2 separate regions of the Homo sapiens genome follow, and region 2 is linked to region 1. Evidence: promoter capture Hi-C in human tissues and cell types (Jung and others, 2019). All regions are on one chromosome and are shown on one strand. Each heading gives the region's core, a stretch centred on a gene start or on the middle of the fragment in contact. The rest is flanking DNA. Distances are from core to core; before and after follow the strand shown. Region 1 holds the start of KPNA6 (karyopherin subunit alpha 6). Region 2 has its middle 9.8 kb from the start of COL16A1.

Region 1 (7,714 bases), core at 3,479-5,978:
GGCCAAGATGGCAAAACCCCATCTCTACTAAAAATATAAAAATTAGCCAGGTGTGGTGGCGCATGTCGGTAGTCCCAGCTACTTGGAAGGCTGAGCCACGAGAATCGCTTGAACCTGGAGGCAGGGGTTGCAGTGAGCTGAGATCGCGCCATTACACTCCAGCCTGGGTGACAGAGCAAGATGCTGTCTCAAAAAAAATAAAATAAGGCCGGGCGCCATGGCTCACACCTGTAATCCCAACACTTTGGGAGGCCGAGGCAGGTGGATCACCTGAGGTCAGGAGTTTGAGACCAGTCTGACGAACATGGAGAAACCCTGTCTACTAAAAATACAAAATTAGCCAGCCATGGCGGGTGGCGCATGCCTATAATCCCAGCTACTCGGGAGGCTGAGGCAGGAGAATTGCTTGAACCCAGGAGGCAGAGGTTGCAGTGAGCCAAGATCCCACCACTGCAATCTTGCAGTGCCAAGACTGAGCCAAGATCCAGCCTGGGCAACAAGAGCAGAACTCTGTCTCAAAAATAAAAATAAAAAACCTCTGAAAGATGACACTACTATCCTGGCAGAATGTGATTTCTTGATTATCTCAGCATGCAGTCACTGGGACCCTCCTTGCTGGGTATTATGGTAGATGGTGAGGATGCCAAGACACTGGAACAAGCAAGTAATACTACACTGGGATGAGCCCAACAGTTACAAGGTACAACAGAGCAGAGGGGAGAGAATGCTTAATGTTCTCTGGGCTTTTTGGAGGAGGGGATAGTCTGAATTGTATTAGCCACTTCCTAGGTGAACAAGAGAGGAAAAGGGTGTTTCAGTTAGAGAAGCAGGCAAATGTAATAGTGCACATGCAGTAGCACATAGATTTGGAACATCCTGGTGTGTTTCGGGGAAGGTAAACAGAATGTGGATCTTAGAGCAGGAATGATTTAAAAAAAAAGTGGAATGGGAAAAGTCAACAGAGGCTGGATCAGGGAGGACCAATAGTCCTAGGCTAGCAAAGGTGTATGAGCAGGGTCATGTGCTAGAGTAGAAACAGCTGCTTGTAGGTCACTGCCTCCTATGGGCATAGGATGGAGGGTTCAGGCTGAAAGGAGAGGAAACATGGACACTCAGCCATTCTCATCTATTCAGCCCACGTTCCCTGAGCCCTTCTTCGCCATAAGGTATGCAGACGAGCTCACAATGCTATATGGGAGACACACACCTCAACAAATATTTTTGGTGCCTCTACTGAGGCAGACACCGTGCTGAACACTGGGATGGTTACAAAGATAAGGAAGATACTGTTCCTTCCATAGACAAGGAGAGAGAGACACACATTGTGAGCAAATTTGGGTGTGAAATGCTAAGGAAAATTAGTGTCCATTTCTTCCTGTAGTAGCAGAGAGGACAGGTGCCCTATCTGGAAAGACAGGCTTCCCCAAAGAGCTGATAGCTGAGTTCAGTCTTGAAAGCGAGTAGTTCTCAGAGTCAGGCGCGGTGGCTAACGCCTGTAATCCCAGCACTTTGGGAGGCTGGGGCGGGTGGATCACCTGAGGTCAGGAGTTCAACACCAGCCTGGCCAACATGGCAAAATCCCGTCTCTACTAAAAATACAAAAATTAGGCTGGGTGCCATGGCTCATGCTTGTAATCCCAGCACTTTGGGAGGCCGAGGCGGGTGGATCACGAGGTCAGGAGTTCGAGACCAGCTTGGCCAACACAGTGAAACCCTGTCTGTACTAAAAATACAAAAATTAGCTGGGTGTGGTGGCAGGCACCTGTAATCCCAGCTACTCGGGAGACTGAGGCAGGAGAATCGCTTGAACCCAGGAGGCAGAGGTTGCAGTGAGCCGAGATCACGCCCCTTTACTCCAGCCTGGGCGACAGAGCTAGACTCTGTCTCAAAAAAAAAAAAAAAACCAAAACACCAAAAAAAACCCAACAACAAAAAATTAGCCGGGTGTGGTGGCGCATGCCTGTAATCCCAGCTAGTCAGGAGGCTAAGGCAGGAGAGTTGCTTGAACCTGGGAGGTGAAGTTTGCAATGAGCCAAGATCATGCCATTGCACTCCAGCCTGGACAACAAGAGCAAAACTCTGTCTCAAAAAAAAAAAAAAAAAGTGAGTAGTTCTCATGGTTAAGTGGGGAAAGGAGGGCACTGCATTCTAAGCAGAGGGAACAGCATATGCAAAGGCACATGAGAAGACAGGCGCATATTTGAAGAAAAGTGGTTCTCCAAATATGGTTGGAGCCTGCATTGCCTGGTGGGGAGTGTCCCAAGAAGCAGGTAAGGACCAGTCTGTGCCAGATTAAAATGTCTGGGCATTACCTAAGGGCAGGCAGTAGGAAGTTGCTAAGCAGAAGAGTTACACTGTAAGGTTTCTGCTTTTTTTTTTCTTTTTTTTTTTCTTTTTTTTTTTTTTTTTTAATGAGACAGGTTTCTCTGTGTTGCCCAGGCTGGTCTTGAACTCCTGGGCTCAAGCAATTCTCCCACCTCAGCCTTCCCAGTAGCTGAGATTATAGGTCTCTGCTTTTCAGGAGATAGTGGGTGGGAGCCGGAGAGTCTGGAGGCAGGAGGCCAGAGAGGAGGCAGGCAAAACAGAACAGGGCAAAGTGATGAGGTCTCACCTTAAGCAGGGGCAGTAGGAAGGGAAATAAAGTGCGCCCCTTCCTGACCTTCATCCTAGAGTTTTCCTTTTGATTTCTTTGCCTCAAGAAAATGGGCCAGGCGCACAACTAAAGTTGGCAGTTTGTTGTGACAGGCCCTTGTTCTGCTTCCAGAAGATAGATCCCTCTGTGTCTTGAAGATATAGCCTGGCTCTGTGTGTCGAGGTGGGGGACAGGAGGGCTGCCATGTCATGGAAAAAGAAAGGCCTGATATGTACTAGCCATACGTCCCGTGATTGAAAAGGCATATGAACAATAAAAGCCTCAATTTCCTCATCTCTAAAAGGGGAGATCATGTCCCTTGCTCTGTGTAACTCAATTTTTTGTTCATTCCTTTGTTTATTCATTCAATAGTTATTTATGGAGCACACACAATGTGCCAGATTCTGTGCTAGGTGCTGGAGATACGGTGGTAAACAATATAGAACCCACCCCTGCCTTCAAGGAGCTTGCTGTGAGGATAAATGAAATGATTATGAAATCACTCTGTTAACTATACTGCATGGGTCTCATTGTTTTTCTTTTTTTTTTTTAGAGACGGGGGATCTTGCTATGTTGCCCAGGCTGGTCTCGAACTCTTGGGCTCAAGCAATCTGCCGCCTCAGCCTCCTAAAATGCTGGGATTACAGGAATGAGCCACCATGTCCAGCCCATTTCTTTCTCTCTCTCTCTCTCTCTTTTTTTTTTTTTTAGAGACAGGGTCTCACTCTATCACCCAACCTGGAGTATAGTGACACAGTCATGGCACTGCAGCCTTGACCTCCCGGACTCAAGTGATCCTCTCGCCTCAGCCGCCCAAGTACAAGTGCTCATTACCATGCCTGGCTAATTTTTTTCTTTTAATTTATTTTTTGTGGAGATGGGGTCTCACTGTGTTGCCCAGTCTGGTCTTGAGCTCCTGGCCTCAAGTGATTCTCTGGCCTCAGCTTCCCAAAGTGTTAGGATTATAGACAAGCGTGAACCACCACACCCAGCCCTATTTTTCTATTTCTCATCTCCCAATAAGATTGCAACCTCAACTAGGGCTACCTACGTAGGCCTAATCAGAAAACCTGAGTTTAGTCTTACTTCTTTGTTTCCTTCTCTCCATAGCCTCATTGAGCAAGGCACTTCCCCTCTCTAGATGATTCGTTGTTCATATTCAGCCCAAGGTCTATGATTGCTGTTTTTGTTTTTAGAGACGGAGTTTTGCTCTTGTCTCCCAGGCTGGAATGCAGTGGCACAATCTCGGCTCACTGCAACCTCTGCCTCCCGGGTTAAAGCAATTCTCCTGCCTCAGCCTCCCAAGTAGATTACAGGCATGCGCCACCACACCCAGCTAATTTTTGTATTTTTAGTAGAGACCATGGGCAGGCTGGTCTCGAACTCCTGATCTCAGGTGATCCGCCCGCCTCGGCCTACCCAAAGTGCTGGGATTACAGGCGTGAGCCACAGCGCCCAGCCGATTGGTTTCAACTATTAGAAGAAGGGATAAACTGGCCCGGAGCGGTGGCTCAAGCCTGTAATCCCAGCACTTTGGGGGCGGGCGGATCACCTGAGGTAAGGAGTTCAAGACCAGCCTAGCCAACATGGTTGAAACACCGTCTCTAGTAAAAATACAAAAATTAGCCAGGCGTGGTGGCAGGCGCCTGTAATCCCAGCTACTCGGGGGGCCGAGGCAGGAGAATCGCTTGAACTCGGGAGGCAGAGTGTGCAGTGAGCCGAGATCGCGCCATCGCACTCCAGCCTGGGGGGACAAGAGCGAGACTGCGTCTCAAAAAAAAAAAAAAAAAAAAAAAAAAAAAAAGGAGGGATAAGCTTCTGGGAGAAAAAGTTCCGGGTAAAGAAATCTCACTATAAAAAAGAAATAGTAGCAGAAACAGCTGGGAACTCCTAGACACACTTAACTTTCTTAGGTATCCCTTCCAGTCTCCTCCCAACCACTCCTTTCCTATTTCATTTCCACTCCCCACCTTTAGTAGCTGCGGTCTCTTTAAGTGCGCACTTTCGGTGTAATGATAGGCGATTGGGCCAATAAAGCGTTTCGTCCTGGAGTTAACTGGTTTGTCCCTTTCGGGCTGCCGTCCTACAGATCCGCCATATTGTCTACTGAAAGCTGCCGCTGAAGCTGCCGCCGTTGCCTCCGCCGCCAAGAGTGAGCGAGCGGACCCGCGATGGGTGAGTGAGGAAACCACGCAGTAGGGTTCTTGGGCTCAGGGAGTGTCGGGGCCTGGGATTTGGCGAGAGCCTGTCTCCGGTCTGCGGAAGATGTCTGCATCCCCTCTAGCTAGGTCTGAGGGGAAAAGTCAGGCCGGGAGTGCCCCTCTTGCCAGTTTTGGGCCGAGCTAGGGCCCGTGCTGGAAGCAGTCCTTTGGTGCTGGTTTCGGGGACACCTTGGCACGCCTGGAGCCCCCCACATGGTGGCCTCGGGCAGGAGCCCACGTGTTCCTGGGAGGTAGAAAGGGGCCTACTCTCTGTCCTGCGCCCAGACTGGGGCTGGGGGACGGGCTCCCGGCGGCAGGCCTGGGCGGCGCTAAGGTAGCTTTCTCCTGGGTTGTGTTTGGCCAACGCGTGTCTTGACTAGATTCAGTGGCTCCCCTGAACTCAGGGAAGTCCTACCTACGTAGCGAGGTGGAGTCCTCTAGTGAGGGGACGTCAGGCGAGCCAGCACTAGGCCGGTAAGCATGGGCAGCCAGGCCGAGGGCAGCTTGCGCCGCTGAAGGCCGGGAGAACGGAATCAAGGCGGAAATAGTGTGGTTCGGTTGGGCTCAGAGTGGCATCGCTTGTGATGGTAGAACACCAAAGGCCAAGTCCTCTTGGCCATCTTTAGGTTGAGGACTTTAGGTTTCTGGGCTGGCCCTGGTAAGGAGAAAAGGAGCGACCTGTTGATCTTTCTGAGGGGACTCCGGCTGGCAAGGCCTCTGTTCAGAGAGAATACCATGGCGAAGTCTTTGGATTTAGAGACAGAACCAACAGTGGTAATTCCTCTAAAGCAGTAAAAATTGTGAAATTTGCTAAGCTCTTTCTACGTACGGGCATTGTTCTGATTGCTTTACATGTCTTGTTTTACTTAATTTGTACAACCTAAGGAAATAGATGCTACCATTGCCATTTTACAGATGTGGAAGCTGAGCTTTAGAGAGGTAAAGTAACTTACCCAAGGTCATGCAGTGGCTAAGCCAGGGTGAACACTCCCAAGCCTAGTTTGTAACTGCTGTTTGTTGTTGTTGTTGATAGAGTCTTGCTCTGTCGCCCAGGCTGGAGTGCAGTGACGCGATCTCGGCTCACTGCAACCTCCTGCCTCCCGGGTTCAAGCGATTCTCCTGCCTCAGCCTCCCGAGTAGCTGGGATTACAGGCACCCACCACCACGCCCGGCTGATTTTTGTGTGTTTTTGGTAGAGACAGGGTTTCGTCATGTTGGCCAGGCTGGTCTCGAACCCCTGACCTCAAGTGATTCGCCTGCCTCGGCCTCCCAAAGTGCTGGGATTACAGGTGTGAGCCACTGCGTCCAGCCTGTTTTTTTGTTTTGTTTTTTTTTTTAAATGACCTGGCCCTCTAGTGGTTGGGCAGGGAGAAAAGGGGAAAAAAGCTTTTAACCCTAGGCAAAGTTGTAAATGTGTTTGGGTTTTCTGTTTGTTTATTTTGTTTTGTTTTGCTTTTTGTTTTTGCATGTGGGCCCATTATGAAATCTTTTTTTTTTTTTTGAGACGGAGTCTGGCTCTGTTGCCCAGGCTGGAGTGCATTGGCGCGATCTCGGCTCACTGCAACTACCACCTTCCCGGGTTCACGCCATTCTCCTGCCTCAGCCTCCCGAGTAGTTGGGACTACAGGTGCCCGCCACCACGCCTGGATAATTTTTTTTGTATTTTTTTGTATTTTTAGTGGAGACGGGGTTTCACCGTGTTAGCCAGGATGGTCTTGATCTCCTGACCTCGTGATCCTCCCGCCTCGCCTTCCAAAGTGCTGAGATTACAAGCGTGAGCCACCATGCCCGGCCACTTTGAAATCCTTTTTCTGAACGAAACTGAAGGAGTCCAGAGTGAATTGATAACTCTAATTATTGTGTGTGGGGCAAGCAAAATGAGAATCTGGAATTGAATTTTTTTTTTTTTTTTTTTTTTTCTGAGAAGAAATTTCACTCTTGTCTCCCATGCTGGAGTGCAGTGGCCAGATCTCGGCTCACTGCAACCTCTGCCTCCCGGGTTAAAGCAATTTTCCTGCCTCAGCCTCCTGAGTAGCTGGGATTACAGGCATCCACCACCACACCTAGCTAATTTTTGTATTTTTAGTAGAGACAGGGTTTCACCATGTTGGCCAAGCTGGTCTCGAACTCCTGACCTCTGGTGATCTGCCCGTCTCGGCCTCCCAAAGTGCTGGGATTACAGGCATGAGCCACCGCGCCTGGCCTGGAATTGGATTTTTAAAGATCTGAGATTCTAAGGAAGCAGAAATTATTCACTTGAGCTTCAAGGCAATGACTGTAGAATCAGATCTGGTATTGGAAGTCACTTAAATGTCAGACACAACAACACATATGGAAAGCATCTAGCACAGTCCACAATAATGTTTTTCTTCCTTTCTGAGCCTTCCTTTTCTGACCTCTAGAAAGAAGGGGTGGGGCTGTGTTATCAAGATATTTGGGGACTAAATAAGATAACAGCATTTGGGCTGGGCAAGGTGGCTCAGGCCTATAATCCCATAGGCCGAGGCGGGTGGATCACCTGAGGTCAGGAGGACGACACCAACCTGACCAATAAGGTGAAACCCTGTCTCTACTAAAAATACAAAAATTAGCTGGGTATGGTGGCGTGCTCCTGTAATCCCAGCTACTTGGGAGGCTGAGAAGGGAGAATTGCTTGAACCCGGGAGGCGGAGGTTGCAGTGAGCCGAGATCATGCCAGCCTGGGCAACAAGCTAGACTCCCTCTCAAAAACAAACAAATAAACAAACAAAAAACAGATAACAGTGTTTGGAGCCTAAAGGGCTCCATGAATATCAGAACAGATTCTTTTCCACTTTCAATAATGTTCCTTTCCCTTAAGCACTCTGGTTTCCAGGTTTCCCTATTGAGTAATAAGACTGAT
Region 2 (7,714 bases), core at 2,927-5,426, 390 kb before region 1:
TCGTTTGAACCCAGGAGGTTGAGGTTGCAGTGAGCTGAGATTGCACCATTGCAGTCCAGCCTGGGCAACAAGAGTGAAACTCTGTCTAAAAAAAAAAAAAAAAAAAAAAATGAAAGAAACTGGCCTAATTATTCTACCCCAGTGGTTCTCCACAGGGGGCAACTTTGCTCCCAGGGGACATTTAGCAATGTTTGGAGACATTTCTGATTGTCATAATGGGGGAGGGGTTGCCACTGGCATCTGGAGGACAGGGGCCAATGATGTGCCTACCATCCTACAGTGCCCAGGACAGCCCCTCACAATCCGAATTATCTGGCCCCAAATGTCAGTAGTGCTGAAGGAGAGAAATCCTGTTCTGGGCCGGGTGCAATGGCTCATGCCTGTAATCCCAGCACTCTGGGAGGTGGAGGTAGGTGGATCACTTGAGGTCAGGAGTTGGAGACCAGCCTGGCTAACATGGCGAAACCCTATCTCTACTAAAAATTAGCCCGGCATGGTGGCGCGCACCTGTGATCCCAGCTGCTTGGGAGGCTGAGGTAGAAGAATCACTTGAACCCGGGAGGTGGAGGTTGCAGTGAGCTGAGATCACGCCACTGCACTCCTGCCTGGGCAACAGAGCGAGACTCCATCTCAAAAAAAAAAAAAAAAAAAAAAAAAAGGTTTAAAGCTGGAAAGTCAGGTGGGCCAGAGATTGGAACTTGACTCTGCCTAACACCAGGGCCCATGAGTTTACTCAGGTCACCTGCAGTCCCCCAAGTTCTGTAAAGCAGGAGGGTAGGCGTTCTCAAGCTTGGAGGACTTGTTAAACACAGGTTGGCAGGCCCCACTCTCAGAGTTTCTGATTCAGTAGTTTGCATTCCTAACAAGTTCCCAGGTGATGCTGATGTTGTGGACCCAGGGACCACATTTGAGAACCCCTGCGGGAGAGTATGATGTTTGATTATCTGCATGTGGGTTCAAATCCAGCCCTTACTGAGTCTATGACTTGGGGATATCACTTAACCTCTTCCTCTGCAAGCAGAGATAACAGCAGTGCCTATCACGTAGGGTTGCTGGAAGGATTAAGGGAGATAGTGACAAAGAGAAAGCCCCTCACGGGATGCTGGCACCTAGTAAACTCTCAGAAGTGCTCACCAGCGTTAGGATTCCCAACCCAGGCAATGCTCCCCCTTTCCAAACAGAAGAAGCTCCCAGTGAGCAGAGAACTAAAACAGCCTCTTCTCCTGCCTATCAGATATCTCTCCAGGCCTAGTAAGAGCAAGGCACAAGATGCCAAATGACATAAGCCCAGGCGGGACAGTGGGATGTTGCTCACGTCTGCCTAGGTATTCCCAGGGACTCCTGCCCCATAGCACAGGTTCTCCTGGAGCAGAGGTGAGGGTGGCACATAGTCAGCAGTGAGAACCCCCAGACTGGTGTGGCCCCCAGACTTCCTCCAGACCCAATCCCACACCTAATGACCCTAGCCTTTTGGGGTAAGAATGGCATAGCTTGCCACCACCACACCTTATCCAAACATCCCTTTGGCCACCAACCAACACAACTCAATCCTGCTGTGCTGTGTGACCTTGAGCTAAACCCTAAGCTCCTCTGAGCCTTACTTTCTTCACCTGTAATAATCAAATAAGAGCCAGGTATAGTTGTTCATGCCTATAATCCCAGCACTTTGGGAGGCCCAAGCAGGAGGATCACTTGAACATAGGAGTTTGAGACCAGCTTGGGCAACATAGTGAGACCCTTGTCTCTACAAAAAATTTTTAAAAATTAGCTGGGTGTGGCAGTCCATGCCTGTAGTCTCAGCTACTCAGGAGGCTGAGGCAGGAGGATCTCTTGAGCCCAGGAGGTTAAAACTGCAGTGAGCTGTGACTATGCCACTGCATTCCAGCCTGGGCAACAAAGCGAGATCCTGTTTCCAAAAAAAAAAAAAAAAATGCAAATAAGACCTCAGCATAGTGGCTAAAGGAAGGGGCAAGGGGACTCTAGTTCCAGGGTAACTGGGTTCAAATCCTGCCTGTACCACTTACTAGCTGTGTGACTTTTGACAAACTACCCCATCTTCCTGGAGTAAGCCTCAGTTTTCTCGTTGGTGAAACAGAATTGTCCCTACCTCACAAGGATGCTGTGAGGGTTACCTGTGACAGGACATTTAAAGTGCTGAGCTTGGTTCCTGGAACTCAATGAACACCAGCTATTCTAGATGTACAATGAGAGTGTGTAACCCTCATTGCCACCACAAAGAGAGTATGTAATCTTCACCACCACAACACACGCAGTCCCTTGGCGGGCTTCCCTCCCCTCAATGTTTAGCTTTGAGGCTATGTTCACTTTCCTTCCCACTTGGAGGTGGGGAAGGAAATTGGAAACAGGCCCCAGGGCGGGTAGATCTTGGCAGAAGCTTGGAGGAGGGAGGAGGATCATCAATTATTAGCCATTGATTTGCTTGAACGTCTTTGTGTCCTGCTAAACCAGAAGTCACAAAAGGAGCTGCTTTTGTTACCATTTCTCCCTAGAGCCTGTGACAGAGACTAGGTGTTTTAAAAATAGTTGCTGCATGAATGAAAGAGGGGGTCGAGCGCCTTCTGAGGACAAACTCCCCTCCATGAAGTACAAACCAAGGAGTCTCCTGGCGGATGCTTGGTGATGAGGGGAGTATTGAAGGACTCCCAGATTCTTTCTTCGCATGCAAGAAACTCAGACAGTTGGTCTCATAAATTCTTCGAATCCTGGAATCTCTGGGTGGAGAGAAGCTCTGGCAGCTGCCCAGCTCCTCCTCCTCCCAGCAGTGCCTGGGCTGGGGCTGGGCAGGAGAGGCCTGGTGACCTGGCTAGAAAGAAGGCTAAGGGAGTGAGCAGGGGAAGGGAAAGTTCAGGGAGAAACCCCAACTGTTTCACCAAAGCAGAAAATAAATCAGAGATCAAGAAAGGGTGTGATCCTGGCTCTGCTACTTCCTGGCTTTATTATCTTAGGCAAATTCCTTCACCTCTGTGAGGCATACTTTCCATATCTGTAGAAGGGGGGTGATAGTAATAACACTAACCACATGGAATTGTGAGGATTCAATGAGATAATGCATGAGACTACGCCAAGCCCATAGTAAACATTCAACAATGCTCATTCTTATGTACCTTATTTTTATTTGAGCAGACTCTTGTCCTGCATCTTACACCCATGTTCATCTCTGACATTTCCTCCTGATCCCCCATTTTATTATTTACATAGCTGGTTTCATGTAGCTTTAAGAGCTCAGTGACATTTCTGACAGACATAAGACCTTTTTCCGTGAAGTGGCCTAAATGATAATATGTAAAGACCGAAAACCAACTGGAGTATTTGTTTGTCAGCCTTGACCATTCAGAAAAGGCCTGACACTGGTGTGTTCGAACGAAAGAGGACAGGTGATGGGAGAGTGGGAGAAAGAGCCTGGGACTGGGGGATTGGCAGACTGGGGGCCTAGGTTCAAGGCCGAGGTCTGCCTTGATGCATTGTTTGGCTTTAGGAGGCTTCTTGCCTTTGGGAAACTAGGGAAGGCTGAACTTGGAGACTCTTGAGCCCACTCCATTCCTCCCAAGTCTGAGGGTCTTAAGCCTGTAATGAGCCAAATATGTCCCCTCCTTGAGATGGGGAAGGGGAATGGGAGTGGGGTGAAGTGAGCCAGACCTGTGTGAGGGCCAGGGTACCACCCTCCCGCTCACCCCCAATTCAGGCCTCATACACGCCTCAGTTTACCAGGTGTTCCAGATCCATCCAAGTACCCTGTGACCATTCCCCATACCACCTTAGCTAAGTCCTTCCAGGAAGAGGAGCCCACCACACCACACCCATTAATCCTCCTCTGGAAGGAGAGAAAAATAGGTGTTGGAGATGGTAACTTGCTGAGCGGGACTGAAGCCAGGTGTGTGTGACTCCCAATATGCCACGACTGCTTTTTAAAAAATATTTTGGCCGGGTGTGGTGGCTCATGTCTGTAATCCCAACACTTTGAGGAGGCAGATGGATCACCTGGGGTCAGGAGTTCGAGACCAGCCTGACCAACATGGTGAAACCCCGTCTCTACTAAATACAAAAAAAAATTAGCTGGGCCTGTTGGTGGGCACCTGTAATCCCAGCTATTTGGGAGGCTGAGGCAGGAGAATCGCTTGAACCCAGGAGGTGGAGGTTGCAGTGAGCTGAGATTGCGCTGTTGCACTCCAGCCTGGGAGACCGAGTGAGACTCTGTCTCAAAAAAAAAAATTATTTCAATCATTAGGACAATCCCAAGTATGTCTCATTCCCAATTGACAGGGGAATGGGCCATAAACCTGGGTGTCATCCTCGGGTGGAGCACCTACAGTAGGAAACAGGCCCTAGGAAGTGGAGTGAAATCCAGAGCTGTCACAGGGCACTCTACTGTGCCATGGGCCTCTTCCTCTCTTTGGAACTCGGTTTTCTCATCTATGGAATAGCAGTGTTTGCTCCAGAACCGCTAATATCCAGGTCGGGACTTTGTGTTGCTGCGAGCCCAGGTCCCCACCCTGAAGTCTAGGACAGACCCATGAGCTTGGGTGGGAGAGAAGAGCAATGCAGACGTGACTGTCCTGCCAGGCGGGGGCGCCGCCGCCAGACGCACGAAAACAACCAAATAAATCAGGCCCAGGAACTCCTAATCCTTCCCGGCTGTGGCTGCTACCGCTTGCCCCGCCGGCACCGCCCTGCCAAGGGCGCAGAGTCGGGCCAGCAGAGCCGGAGTGATGCCGGGCCATCGAGGCGTCCTCAGCCCCCGAGGTGGGAGGTGGTGGGGGGGCGGGGAGGAGAAGAAGAAGGCTCTCCCGACACGGTGACTCAGGCCTCCTTGACCCGCTCCTGGGTGGGCACGTTCCTGCGCCCCGGTCTATTTTTAGAGCCGGCTCTGGGCCTGAGCGCAGACTGAAGGGAAGGGGGGCCTCGTGGGGGGCGCAGGCGCCTGACCAGCTCCTCCAGCTCGGGGCTCAAGCCCCAGGCCCTCCAGCTGTCTACTTGGAAAAGGGTGGAAGCACATGGAGGGTGGGTGTCAGGGTGTGCGGCGCAGGCCCAGAGAATGCGCCCCCCTTCCCCACAAGGCCTGGCAGTTCCAGAGAACTGGGCGCGGCCTCCCAAATAACGACCTCTGTTAAGTGGGACCAGGAGCCTCCCGATGGTCGCTGTGTCTGCCCATTGGACCAGGGGCCAGGGCGGGCGGGGCTTTGGGCGACAGAACTGGCTAGGGTGGGAGAGGAGAGGAAGCTGCCAGGTTCTGGGGATCCCGACCCCACCCCGCCGACAGCCACGCCTCCAGCCCACTCTGGCCACGCCACTGGTCTGCCTTTGGACCACACTCATGGCCGGGTGCCTTCCCTGACTCCGCCCTAGGCCCTGCCTCCTATCTGGCTCCGCCCAGCCCTGGCCAACCTTAGAACCTGTCCCAAGGTCCAGAGAGGCCTAGATGAGGGGTAGCCTGCCTCTGAGAGGCATGGAGCCCTCCTCCCGCGTGGGGTCAGGGAATAGAAGGGCGTCGAGGGTGGCGGGTGAGGGAACGTTCCTGGCGCCGCGAACGGGAAGCCTCCAGGCTGCAGGACGTAGCTGCGGGGACCCGGCAGTCTGCGAGGCTGGAGTGGCCGAGGCCGCCCCGAGCATAGAAACAGCCCTGTATACGTGGGCACAGAAAGGCCCAGGGAGGCGCCTGGGCAGAAGTGTCTAGGACGATGCCTCTGCCACGGAGCCCTGGAGTGGGGGCAGCTGATGGCTCAAGACACATGAGCTCTGGTGGCGAGTACAGGGACGCGGGGTTTGGGGAGGCCCAAGTCAAGGTCCATCCTTCTGGGATGAGGGGCGGAGGATGGGAGGCGGAGCCCGGTCTCCAGGGCACCAGCCCTCCACCTAGCGGGAAGCTTGGGAATCGCGGAGTGCAGAGGTGGGGTGCGGAAAGGGTTCCACCGCGCCTGGGCTCCTTTTTCTCCTTGGAGGTCCCACTGGCGCCTACCCACCACCATCCTGCCCAGTCCGCTCCATCTCGGGGATTCGCCCCAGATAGAAAGGGGAGTCATTCTAACATCTATCTTCCCTTCTTCCCCCCATCTCCAGGTCCTATCCCCTTCCCTTCTTCCTTGCAGTTATCCCTGGGAGCTGCCTCTGCCGGTTCCAGTCCCTGGAACACCTGACAACTGCTCTTCCTGCCACCAGTTTTACCCTCTCCCCCATCCATTTTTCATAGCCATGTGGTGTTTCTTTTTTTCTTTTCTTTTTTTTTTGAGGCAGAGTCTTGCTCTGTGGCCCAGGCAGGAGTGCTGTGGCGCGATCTCGGCTCACTGCAAGCTCCGCCTCCCGGGCTCACGCCATTCTCCTGCCTCAGCCTTCCGAGTAGCTGGGACTACAGGCGCCCGCCACCACACCCGGCTAATTTTTTGTACATTTAGTAGAGACGGGGTTTCACCGTGTTAGCCAGGATGGTCTCAATCTCCTGACCTCATGATCCACCCGCCTCGGCCTCCCAAAGTGCTGGGATTACAGGCGTGAGCCACTGCGCCCAGCCGCCATGCGGTGTTTCTAAACAGGAATCTGGTTGTGTCACTTTCTTGATTAGAATCATTCAATAGCATCTTATGGTCCAAATAGACTCCAAACCTTGACTTGGGACTTGAGCTCTTCACCATCCAGCTCCACCTCCCTCAGCCCCAGTCCCTCTCTGGGGCTTTCTGTGTTCCACCCATACAGGAGAACTGTCAGCTCCTCATCCCTTTTCCAGGAACGCCCTCCCTGGCCTCATCCTTGCTGTCTTCAGGGCTTAGTCTGGCAGAGACTCCACTTCTTGGGAGGCCTTTCCTGAACCCCAGGTCTTAGTTAGGTGCCCCTTGTCTGACCTCCCACCACCCCCAGTATGTGCCTGCCTCTCTCAGAGCAGTCACTGCCTGGGTCTCTAATGACTTATTCACTCCCGTGGCAGGACAATTGATTGAGATATTAATTGCTTTGTTCTCCTGTAGTTTCCCCTCCCACTTGCAAGCTGGTAGCCAAGCCCTTTGATTTTTCTAGCCTCAGGGAACTGTGCAGGGCCAAACGCAAAAAGCTGCTTGAAGTCTGATGGCTTGTCCTGAGTTTGGAAAGAGCTAAACTTCTGGAAGCAGGCGTGCCATGTGTTCCCAAGGGATGGGGAGAAGAGGACAGAGAATTGAGAGGCAGAAGCTAGCTGCAGAGGGTGCAGAAGCTGGGGGTCCTTTGGGTGGTAGGGACCTGTGTCTAGCTCCCTTGACAGCTGATAGCTCCCTTGACAGGTGACAGGAGCTGTGGGGATGTGTGGTAACGCACCTGGGGTGGCTGGAGTGCAAACACTTGGGAACCAGCTTCAGTGCTCCAAAGTAGCAGGGGAACAGCTTAGTCACTGAGCCTCAAGGGACCATATGGACTACTAGGACAATGGACATCTCTGTGTGACCAATGTAGACTGAAGACAGGAGGCACCTCTTCTGTGCCCATGTGCAGGGAGGGCCAGCAGCTCCTTGCACTCGCCAGTGGGAAAGGTGGGAGGGAGCCTTCAGTGATGGTTGAGATTAAATTTTTTGCCAACTCATAGGAAAGCGTTTAGAGTGAGTCAGACTGGAGTTGGTTTAAAGTGAATACAGAAACAGGGTATTTCTTGTTTGTGTGCCAAGCTTCCTCCCTACTACACCTGTCTGTGTGTCTCTTAATACGCTGCAGAGCTGAGACTGTATGTGCCTCATTCAGA

The links. Contacts are between HindIII fragments. The study calls those that stand out against the background at their distance.
Region 2: a contact is called between a fragment that was not itself captured here and the fragment with the promoter of KPNA6 in region 1, in 1 of the 25 tissues and cell types used here (hippocampus).

Annotation. Positions count from the first base shown.
Region 1 is chr1:32,103,328-32,111,041 of GRCh38, forward strand. KPNA6 (karyopherin subunit alpha 6) reads left to right here and starts at 4,729. Exons shown (of 14, transcript NM_012316.5): 1 at 4,729-4,807. The coding sequence starts at 4,804. RefSeq lists enhancers at 4,423-4,941, 4,555-4,984, 4,942-5,459. The HindIII fragment of the contact is 12,561 bases long and covers 1-7,714 here.
Region 2 is chr1:31,709,949-31,717,662 of GRCh38, forward strand. No RefSeq gene overlaps it. Among named protein-coding and RNA genes, the nearest start is that of COL16A1, 9.8 kb to the left of the region's middle. RefSeq lists enhancers at 5,220-5,514, 5,374-5,971, 5,794-5,903, 5,972-6,567. The HindIII fragment of the contact is 5,169 bases long and covers 1,593-6,761 here.